3 separate regions of the Homo sapiens genome follow, and regions 2 and 3 are each linked to region 1. Evidence: promoter capture Hi-C in 16 types of primary human blood cells and fetal thymus (Javierre and others, 2016). All regions are on one chromosome and are shown on one strand. The core of a region is centred on a gene start or on the middle of the fragment in contact, and the rest is flanking DNA. Distances in the headings are between cores, read along the strand shown. Region 1 holds the start of BST2 (bone marrow stromal cell antigen 2). Region 2 holds the start of PIK3R2 (phosphoinositide-3-kinase regulatory subunit 2). Region 3 holds the start of CCDC124 (coiled-coil domain containing 124).

The links. Contacts are between HindIII fragments. The CHiCAGO score rates a contact against its expected background, and 5 or more counts as called.
Region 2: a contact is called between the fragment with the promoter of PIK3R2 here and the fragment with the promoter of BST2 in region 1, in 5 of 17 cell types (naive CD8 T cells, non-activated CD4 T cells, naive B cells and 2 more). The highest score is 8.0, in naive CD8 T cells.
Region 3: the fragment with the promoter of CCDC124 here is called in contact with the fragment with the promoter of BST2 in region 1 in 12 of 17 cell types (non-activated CD4 T cells, naive CD4 T cells, neutrophils and 9 more); the score reaches 14.5 in non-activated CD4 T cells.

What each region holds. Positions count from the first base shown.
Region 1 is chr19:17,403,791-17,407,295 of GRCh38, reverse strand. It overlaps BST2 (bone marrow stromal cell antigen 2), which reads left to right and starts at 1,666. Exons shown (of 5, transcript NM_004335.4): 1 at 1,666-2,005; 2 at 2,859-2,925; 3 at 3,107-3,167; 4 at 3,472-3,505. The coding sequence starts at 1,721. It overlaps BISPR (BST2 interferon stimulated positive regulator), which reads right to left and starts at 1,610. Exons shown (of 4, transcript NR_130766.1): 1 at 1,525-1,610; 2 at 1,000-1,219. It also overlaps a transcript of MVB12A not described here. RefSeq lists enhancers at 655-704, 905-954, 1,005-1,064, 1,255-1,634, 1,705-1,764 and 1 more. The HindIII fragment of the contact is 7,369 bases long and covers 1-1,785 here.
Region 2 is chr19:18,151,513-18,155,017 of GRCh38, reverse strand. PIK3R2 (phosphoinositide-3-kinase regulatory subunit 2) reads right to left here and starts at 1,855. Exons shown (of 16, transcript NM_005027.4): 1 at 1,724-1,855. MAST3 (microtubule associated serine/threonine kinase 3) reads right to left here. Exons shown (of 28, transcript NM_001393504.1): 28 at 3,331-3,505. RefSeq lists silencers at 985-1,204, 1,515-1,894 and enhancers at 2,005-2,284, 1,590-2,482, 3,025-3,104. The HindIII fragment of the contact is 8,629 bases long and covers 1-3,110 here.
Region 3 is chr19:17,931,506-17,935,010 of GRCh38, reverse strand. It overlaps CCDC124 (coiled-coil domain containing 124), which reads right to left and starts at 1,996. Exons shown (of 5, transcript NM_001136203.2): 1 at 1,963-1,996. RefSeq lists a silencer at 1,834-1,883 and enhancers at 1,964-2,153, 2,174-2,233, 2,380-2,918. The HindIII fragment of the contact is 21,651 bases long and covers 1-3,505 here.

The sequences.
Region 1 (3,505 bases), core at 417-2,916:
TCTCGTCGCCGCACACAGGGAGAGACCCACTGACCCTGTGGGGCTGGTCCCTACAGTAATTTTAAAGGGAAGAGCAACAAACTTTCGGTTTGCAGGGCTGGGACTGTTTACAGCTGCAAAATTTAGAGAGGACATCAATCTATTATTATCCACATTTTACAGCTGGGGAAATCAATGCTAAGAGAGGAAATTCATTTGCCCAGAGGTGCACCACCCTGGCCTCCAATGTGCAATTCATGCAATTGTGATTTCCGACCTGGTCCCAAACTAACCCTAAAGTTAGCAGGCCAGAACAGTGCTGCTCAAATAAGTCAGCTTAGTCAAATAAGTCAGGCAAAGGTCGTGTCTTTGCACCTGGAGTCCTGGCCAGGCTGGTAGGTCCCTCCTCCTGGGACAAGTTCACCCTCAGAATTTTCAGCAAGATCATCTCCCACAGCTTGTTAATTGGTTCTTGGTTCTAAGTGATTTTTTTGTTTATTGGTTTAAGAGATGGGATCCCACTCTATCACCCAGGCTTGAGTGCCGTGGCACAATCATAGCTCGCTGCAGCCTCAAACTCCTGGGCTCGAGTGATCCTCCTGCCTCAGCCTCCCAGCCTCAGCCTGGGACCACAGGCATGTACCACCATGCCTGGCTCTAAGTGGCTTTAATGGGGTCCTTCTGAGGGATGTTGGAGTCAGGGCCTGGGGGGAGTTCCCCAGGCCTTCTGGGAGGCCTGGGCTCTGGACTTGACCTCGCCTACTGTCTGGCCCTGCTGAAAAGAAAAAAAAACATGGAAATGGCAGACCTAACAGAATCTGGGCTGTGGTCAGGATGTGGCTGAAGAAGCCACAAGAAAAACATGCAGTCCCCTTTCAGCGGTCATGCCCAGCAGTTGGGTGCCGATAATGGGCCTGATTTCCTGTAGGAAGCCCTGGCTCTCTTGGCCACATGGACAGTGTCTGAGGCTGGCCCTGTTATTCCCCTTTGCAGATGAAGAAACAGGCTCAGAGAGTTTACCTGGTATCCTGGAGTCCCAGGAGCACTTTTTCTGGAAGTAGGAGCTTGTTTCCTGCAGGTGCCAAGACAGAGACCGACATTGTTTGTTGGCTGGGTCGGTCTCCCAGTTTTCAGCTGGCTCCAGTCTCACCTGTTGCTCACACACCCTCCATGTCTCCCATAGTCCCCTCGGTGGGGACAGAGGCACTGGATGAAGCCCTGCTCGTCACCACAGAGACACCTGAACACAAAAACCAGTCCCTGGGGTCAGACCCAGGCCCCGCCCCCAGACCCAGGCCCTGCCCTCACTCCACCACGCAACTGTGCAACCTCAGTTTCCCCAGGTGGAGACCGGACCAACAGTGATGGCCTCTGCCTCTTCAGGTCATAGTACAGATGAATACAGGCTGGCACGGCCTAGGCACTCAGTAACACACAGCAGAGGCACAGGGACTTAAGATGGAGTGTCCCAGGCAGCCACAGTTGGCTGGCACCCAGCTGGGAAGGGCCCAAGGGCTTTTAAAGCAGGGTGAAAAAAAAGCCCACCTCCTTTCTGGGAAACTGAAACTGAAAACCTAATTAATCCTCTGCCTGTAGGTGCCTCATGCAAGAGCTGCTGGTCAGAGCACTTCCTGGAACTTGCTATTGGTCAGGACGTTTCCTATGCTAATAAAGGGGTGGCCCGTAGAAGATTCCAGCACCCTCCCCTAACTCCAGGCCAGACTCTAAAGGGGAGATCTGGATGGCATCTACTTCGTATGACTATTGCAGAGTGCCCATGGAAGACGGGGATAAGCGCTGTAAGCTTCTGCTGGGGATAGGAATTCTGGTGCTCCTGATCATCGTGATTCTGGGGGTGCCCTTGATTATCTTCACCATCAAGGCCAACAGCGAGGCCTGCCGGGACGGCCTTCGGGCAGTGATGGAGTGTCGCAATGTCACCCATCTCCTGCAACAAGAGCTGACCGAGGCCCAGAAGGGCTTTCAGGATGTGGAGGCCCAGGCCGCCACCTGCAACCACACTGTGGTAAGCTCCTCAACTCCTTTGGATGGCCTAGTACTAGGCGGTGGGAGGGACAAGAATCTCTCCCCAGAAATCTGACCCAGGGTGGGTCTCCAGGGAGATGCAGGGGAGGTCCTGAAACTGCTCCTGGGCCCCCACATCAAGGGACCTAGGTTCCCCTACCAGGGTTTGTGGGCCCCTAACCCAGTCCAGGGCACTGGTGTAGGGGCAGGGTGTTAAAACTCTCCAGATCCCCCAAATCGGGGACCTCAGTATCCCCCTGGGACTTAGGTGAATTTATAAATTCTTTCCAGGGCACTGGTGTCGGGGGCCTTGAAACTCCTCGTGGGCACCAGTCCTGGGGGAGTAGAAATCCCTATTCAGGGTTGAAGGGGGACCTCACCAGACCCTGAAAAAGGGGGCTTTTGAAATTTTCACTTCATCCCTAAGAAACTGAAATATTCACCTGGGTCCTGATATGGGGGATCTTGAAACTCTCGCTGGGCATGTCACTTGGGCGGGGAAATCCCACTGCATTCTGGATTTGGTAGGGCCCTCTAACTTTTCTTGGGCCATTGCTCAGGCAATCTGGAAATGTCCACTAAACTTTGGTTATCGATAGCCTCCAAGTTTCCACGTGGGGTGGCCTCAAAACTCCCATTTTGAGGACCCACATGCTTATGGGTGGCCCTGGGAGAGTGTGTGGTTGTGGCTGTTCTTTAAGGTTGGAGACCATGGTGCAGAGAGGGTTGGAAGAAAACCTGAAAGGGGTTTGCATTTAAGCCCCTCTGTCCCCAGGACCTAGGGAGGAGGCCCAGGTCCCAGGGGCAGCAGCCAAACTCCCCAGGCCAAAACCCCAGATTCTAACTCTTCTTAGATGGCCCTAATGGCTTCCCTGGATGCAGAGAAGGCCCAAGGACAAAAGAAAGTGGAGGAGCTTGAGGGTGAGAAAGGGAGAAGGGAGAGGGCCGGGGAGGGGTGAGTCAGGTATGGAAGAGGGGGTGGGGGCAGGGAGACCAGGGCTGGAGGTTGGGGTAAGGGGGAGGTTCTGTCCCAGAGTGGAGCAGGGCCCCAGCATGGCCACATGCTGACCCGCCCCCTGTTTCTGTCCTCCCACCCTACCAGGAGAGATCACTACATTAAACCATAAGCTTCAGGACGCGTCTGCAGAGGTGGAGCGACTGAGGTCAGAGATAGCCTTCCCCCGCTACCCTCCACCTGCCACATTCCTCTCACCCCCACATCCCTAGCCCAAGACCCAGGATCTCCTTTGCTCCCAAAATCCCCATTGCCCCAAGGGATAAAGTTTGAGTCCCACAAAAGGATAACTTAGCCCCTAGGGTCACAGAGCCATGGGTGGCCGCTGTCCATTCCCTCCCCGGTGACTTGGATTGGGGCGGTGCGGGGGGAACTCCCGGGGGCGGTGGGCTTACAGGGAGGGCGGCAGGAGCCAGGACGAGCAGATGCCTGATTTGCCATCTGTACCGCAGAAGAGAAAACCAGGTCTTAAGCGTGAGAATCGCG
Region 2 (3,505 bases), core at 606-3,105, 750 kb before region 1:
GGTCTTGAACTCCTGACCTCAAGTGATCTGCTCGCCTTGGCCTCCCAAAGTGCTGGGATTACAGGCATGAGCCACCTTGCCCAGCCTTTTTTTTTTTTTTTCCAATAGAGGTGGGGTCTTGCTATGTTGCCCAGGTTGGTCGCAAACTCCTGGGCTGAAGCAGTCCTCCTGCCTCTGCCTTCCAAAGTGTTGGGATTACAGGTGTGAGCCACCGCGCCCGGCCAGTAAACAGGCTTTTCATCACCCCTGTTACAGATGGGGAAACTGAGGCTCAGAGCAGGGAGGTATCTAGGGCCGTGCAGTAGGCCAGGAGGAAGCCAGGACTTACACCTAGATCTGCCGACTTGGCCCAGTTGGACATGAGGGGGCAGCAGCCAGGTGGCCAGATACCTAGGGCAGGGAGGACGCAATGGAGGCCACTCCGGGTGCTTTGGGAGCTCCATAGAGGGGTCAGGCCAGCTGAACTAAGAGGTAGGGAACAAAGTCCAGGAAGAGGCCTCTACACAAGCAAAGGCCTCGAGGTGAGTCCAAGCAAATGGACCTCCAGTCTCTGCAGAGGAGGAGTGAGTGGGCTGGCAGGTAGCTCCAGCCTGGGGCCCAGAGTAGGCACAAAATGCAGATGGGGAGGTGCTTAGAAGGAACCTTAGCCCCAGGCAGGGACAGGGAGCCAGGAGAAGGTGGGGGTACTGCAGCTGAGGAGGAGGGGAGGCTGCCGGCAGCAGGGCATTGATTATTCCCCAGGAGTCCCAGCCTGGGGAGGCGGAGATAGGCACACATTCCCAGCCTAGCCCTGCGGGTTCAGACGCCCTGTGATGGACAGGGCTAGGGTCGGGGGATGGACGTGCTGTTCTAGAGAATGGATCATCACAGCGGATAGGAAGGCGCGACAGGCAGACGGAACGGCACATGCAAAGCCTTGGCAGTGGGTTAAGTTGCTTGTCAAGGATTCAGGGTGGCTATAAGGATAGGTGCTATCCACCAAGAGGCCCGAGTGTCAGGTGGAGGCTCTGAGCATCCTTCAGTCACGGGGAACCCCAAGAGGTGTCCGAGCAGGGCGGAGGGGCGCCACATTCTCGGGTGCCCAATTTACCCATTCCTAGGCCTCTGTTACCCTCATTCTACAGGTGGGGAAACTGAGGCCCCGAGAGGGGATGCCCAGAAAACCGCCTGGATCTGCCTGCCAGCCCGCCCCCACGCCCCGGTGTGCGCGCCCCGGGAGCAGCGCTCCCCGAATCCGGGAGGCGGGAGGGGCGGGGCAGGCAGGGCTGGGGGCTCCGCGGGTGAAGGCAGGGCCTGAGCGCTCACACAGACGCGCACTTGGGTCTGCGTGGACCCGGCCACCCGGCTAGGGGACCGGAAGTGGGTTCGACCCCCGGCCCTCCCGCACCCCATTCTGCCCCGCACAATGCCTGGGCGCCCCTCGGTACTATTCGAAGCCCCATTCCAGGCAGGGCCTCCCTTCATTTGGGGCCTCGGCTCCAGTCCGGTATCTTGGACGCGGGGAGTCTCTCCCCATTCTGCCCCGACCGTCCCAAGGAGGCTGCACCGCTGCGGAGCCGAGCCCGAGGCCCCCCCTTGCCTGCGGCCCCCCCAGTTCCCGCGGGGCCCGACGCAGCCTGGCGCTTGCGTTCTGGCTTCCACCGGGGCCCGGCACTGCCCCCGGGCGCCCCGCATTTAAGCACACTCCCAGCCGCCCCCGCCACGAGGGCCAGTCAGGACTCACCTGGTCGCGGCCGCCACCGCCGCCGCAGCCGCCGTCACACCAAGCCAAGCCCGCCCCGTGGCTCCACCGCGGCCACCGTCGCCGCAGCCGCGGGATCCCCGCCTCCGCCGCCGCCACGGTTCCGAGCGGCCTGGCCCGCCCCCGGCGGAAATGCCCGAGCGCATTCGAGCCGGGCGGATGAACCGAGGCCGAGGCGGAGCCTGAGGTAAGGGGGCACCCGAGTGTTTCCGGAAGTAGCCGAACGTAATCCCGCGGGACTGGTGGACTAGAGGGTGCCCCCGAGACAGCCGAGCGTTTCCAGAGGTAGCCGAGTGCAATCGGGTCGGCGAGGGATCCGAGACTGGGCTCGGCTGGGCTTAGAGACGCCCGAGCGCTTTCGGAAATGGCCGAACACTCTCTACGGCCGCACTGGCACAACTGAGGCTGATCCCCAAGACCGCGGAGCGTTTCTGGAAATAACCGAATGTGCTCAGTGCCCAATGGAGGCCTTGGGAGTTTAGACCCAGAGGCGACCGCCAGCTTATGGGAATTACTGAAGCATAGATGGTTCCAGGGGACAAATGAGGCGTTCTCAAGCTCAGCAAACAGGGGGCAGTAGAGTGGGGAAAGGGCCTGCCGCAAAAAGCAGAAGTCGGAGAAAGCCAGGGTTGAAGGAGTTTCCATGGCAACCCAGAGCGTCCGGAAACAGCCAACGATCTCGACCCCTACGGGCACTAGAATTTAGCGGACTTGAGCCTAGATGCCGACGGTTTCCGGAAATAGCCGAACGCACTCGGAGATGGGGCTGTAGCCAAGAGTGTTTGCATGCCGGCTGAGCGCCCCGGAAGTAACGGATTGCTCTAGGGCTGGGCCGGGTTCGGCTAGAGGGAGTTTTATGGCAGAGCGCAAGCTAAGACCAGGATAGAAAGGACGCGACGATTGCTTATTTTGTTATTATTTTTTGAGACGGAGTTTCGCTCTTGTTGCCCAGGCTGGAGTGCAATGGCGCTATCTCGGCTCGCCGCAACCTCCACCTCCCGAGTTCAAGCGATTCTCCTGCCTCAGCCTCCCGAGCAGCTGGGATTACAGGCATGCGCCACCACGCCCGGCTAATTTTGTATTTTTAGTAGAGACGGGGTTTCTCCATGTTGGTCAGGGTGGTTTGGAACTCCCGACCTCAGGAGATCCGCCCGCCTTGGCCTTCCAAAGTGCTGGGATTACAGGCGTGAGCCACCGCGCCCCGCCGCTTATTTATTTTATTAACATAGCCCAGGGCGCCCAGGAGGTCGAGGCTGCAATGTGCCGTGATTGCGCCACTGTACTCCAACCTGGGTTACAGAGCGAGACCTTGTCTCAAAAACATAAAAATAAAAAACATAGCTCAGGGCCCAGATGTCTGGAGGAAGCTTTTAAAGGCAGGGCTATGATGGAGTACTCGCAGGGAGAGGGTAGCAGGAGGCTGGTACCAGCGATGGCATCAGGAAGAATCTCAACAGCGAACTGCTATGCAGTCCTCAAAACCCACTTGCAATGACTTTGAGCCATGGGTCTATTTCACTCCGCTCCCCTCCCCACTCTTCCCTTCCTCCTTTCTCAGCCCCTCACAAATCCAGACGTTGGAGCTCATCTTTGTAAATACGGGCTTTTATTCACTGCCAGCTCCAGGATGGAAGGAGGGGGTGAATCATGCACAGCCTTGGTCTACCCTCCAACACTAGGCAGTGCTGGACAGGGGACTCAGAAAGGGAAGCAGAGTGGGCTGTTGATGTCTGGAAAGCTCCCTCACCAGAGTGCCCAGTGGGT
Region 3 (3,505 bases), core at 747-3,246, 530 kb before region 1:
GTAGGAGGCTGAGGCCACAGTGAGCTATGATTGTGCCACTGCACTCCAGCCTGGGCAACAGAACAAGACCCTGTCTCTTAAAAGAAAAAAAAAAAAAGGAAACAAGGAAACAAGGCACCAATACATACATGATACAATGTGGTTGAACCTCAACAACACAATACTAAGTGAAAGAAGCCAGACACAAAAGGCCACACAGTGTGAGAGTACATTTATTTATTTATTTTGGAGACAGGGTCTCACTCTGTCGCCCAGGCTGGAGTGCAGTGGCGAAATCTCGGCTTACTGCAGCCTTGACCTCCTGGGCTCAAGTGATCCTCCCACCTGAGCCTCCTAAGTAGCTGGGACTATAGGTGCAGGCCACCATGCCTAGCTTTTTTTTTTTTTTTTTAAGGCAGGGTCTGACTATGTTGCCCAGGCTGGCCTTGAACTCCTGGGCTCAAGTGATCCTCCCGCCTCGGCCTTCCAAAGTGCTGGGATTACAGGCCTGAGCCACTGCGCCTGGCCCTTCGTTCCTTTTTATGGCTGAATATTCCTCCACTGCATGGATACGCCACATTTTGTTTATCCATTGTCCACAGCTAGACATTTGGGCTGTTTCCACGTTGGGGCTTTTTTTTGTTTTGAGACGGAGTTTTGCTCTTTCACCCAGGCTGGAATGCAGTGGCACAATCTCGGCTCACTGCAACCTCCACCCACCCGGTTCAAGCAATTCTCCTGTTTCAGCCTCCCAAGCAGCTAGGATTACAGGCACCTGCCACCACGCCCGGCTAATTTTTGTATTTTTATAGAGATGGGGTTTCACCATGTTGGCATGTGCCACCATGCCTATCTGATTTTTGTATTTTTAGTAGAGACGGGGTTTCACTATGTTGGCCAGGCTGGTCTCAAACTCTTGACCTCAAGTGATCCGCTTGCCTCGGCCTCTCAAAGTGCCTGGATTACAGGTGTGAGCCACAGTGCCTGGCAATTTCTGCTGTTTAAGCCACCCAGTCTGTGGTATTAGTTATGACAGCCCAAGCTGGAAATACAGACACTTTTCTCTGTGTAGTAAACACTCACTCACTTGCACACGTCATTCAATAAATATGTACTGGGCACCTAATACGTGTGCGATGCTGGGGAAAGAGGTGGCACAAATGAGCTTTCTGCCTGCATGGGACTCCCAGAGAAGAGCCAACACATGCAATCAGAGTCCTAATAAGGACACGCAGGGCGCCGGGGAAGCCCGGAGAGGGCTTCTGACCCAGCCTGGGTCAAAGGGCTTCCTAAAGGAGACATCTAAGGAAAAGTCTGAATGAGTGGGGGAGAGCGCAGCCTGCACGCGGGATGCAGGAGGTAGGCTGGAAAAGGGGGCGATTTGTATTCCAGGGAGATGGGAAGGTGTGGAGGGCGTTAGAGCCGGGAAGCCCAATCTATGGGTCACACAAGCCCTCTGGGGTTAGTGAGGAGGTGGACTCCCCAGATGGCAGGAGCTGGGAGCCCAGGCGGTACCCAGGGAGTGGCTCAGGCTGGGCGAGGGGCACACTTAGAAGCGAATCAAGACCCATGGGGATTAAGACCCCACGGATGTGAAGGTAAAATAACAGAATACAAAATTCAACAATGCCTCCTCTAAGCAGCCCTCCCGGCTATCCCTTTTGAAGTCCCCCACCACTAATCCCCCTACAAGAGGCCGGGGGAGTCCGCGCCCAACTCTGTCCCTCTCGAGACCAGAAGCTGCCTAGGGGCAGTCCGGGGCCAGGTGGCCTCGAACATGCTGTCGCGTCGGGCTTCAATCGTCTAGTCTGGAAATGGGCATCGCCCCCAACTAGGTGCGGTTCAGACTGGACGCCAGAAGTGCTCCTGCCTCCCAGCACCCCTCCTCCAGCCTTCCCAGGGGATGGTCCCAGGCCAAGCAGCCCCCGCCCCGCGCCTCTGCTCCCCGAACCCGGGTTCCGCCCGCGCCGCAGACGCTCCTACCTTCTTACCCCAGCGCCGGCCCGGTCGCGCCTCCGTGACGTCATCATGGGGCCTGCGCGCTGAGCTCCTGGCGGCGCGCACTCATTGCGCCTCAGTACCGCCGCCATTTTGGTAAAGAAAAAGATGGCTGGGCCTCGGACCCAAGCCAGGGTAGTCAGCCACTTCTTTGTCTCTTCAAAAAGAGGACACTTAATACGCCCTCATTCCCTACGCTCATTTAATATGTTGATGAACCAGGAGGGGCGGGCAGAGGCGAAAATCTAGAACATTGCCTTTACCAAGATGGCCGATGCCCGGATGAAAGATGGCAGCTGCGACTACACACGTGGTCCGGCGGCTTCAGCCTGGAGCGGCCCGGCCGCCAGAGCGCGCCCGCGGTCCATGAGGGGAGGTGGACCCAGTATAGCCCTGAGGAAGCCTCTCCGTAGCTCTTCGCAATCCCTTAACGCTTTAAAAGTGCTTTCCTAGTCCTGAGTCTCTGCGTCCCACTGGTGACGCTGGGGCGGGGCTAGGAGAGGGGAGATAAATGGGGCAGAGAAATTAACACACACCGCGCAGTCCAGGTAGGGAAACCGAGGCTCAGAGAGACCAGGAATTGAGTTTGGCCAAAATGTAACCGCGAGTAGGCTCATAACCGCGAGTAGGCTCAAATTCCGTCTCTTGCTCCTGCCAGTGCCTCTTCCTGGATTGCTGACCTGCTCCCCACTTCTGCAATATTATTTATTAATTTTATTTAGAAATTAGGTTTGAGGCGCCAATTTGTCTTAGGCACTATACTTTAGATTTTCTGCATTTACTACTTCTCGGTGTTCTCAACAGTAAAAATGGCAGTATTAGGGGTCTAAGGTTACACTGGTCCTGACTGTGGAGAGGGAAAAGCAAATGCTTTGGGGGCAGTTCAGGTAGGAGTAGTTGACCACAGAGTCCATTCCCTAAAAGGCATCCCCCCAGCGACCTTGCTGGGACCTAAATCCCAGTGCGCGATGCACCTCCCCTGCTCTAACGCCTCCCCTGGGTTCCCATTGTCCCGCAAGACTCCTCCCACCTCCCACCCCATCTCCCTTGGCTTCCCTCACCCTCCCATTAGCTCTCTGCTCAGGTCGCACCAGCCCCCTTCTTACAAATTGCCAGGCGCAGTCTTGCCTCAGGGAGTTCCCCCAGGAATTTCCCAGGTTTTTCCGTGGCCAGTTCCTTCCCTTCAGGCATGAGACAGAAAGGTCTCTGGGTGCAGGGGGCTTAAAGTCGGAAAATCACATGAAAGATTATTATCCTGGCTGGTCGCAGTGGCACATGCCTGTGATCCCAACCCTTTGGAAGGCTAAGGTGGGAGGATCGCTTGAGGCCAGGTGTTTGAAAGCAGCCTGGGCAACATTATGAGACCCCATCTCGACAGAAGATAAAAACATTAGCTGGGCGTGGTGGCATGCTCATCCTCCCATTCAAGAGAATCACTTGAGCCCAGAAGTTGGAGGGTGCAGTGAGGTATGATAGCGCCACTGCACTCCAGCCAGCCTGGGTGAAGGAACCTCTCTTAAAAAATACT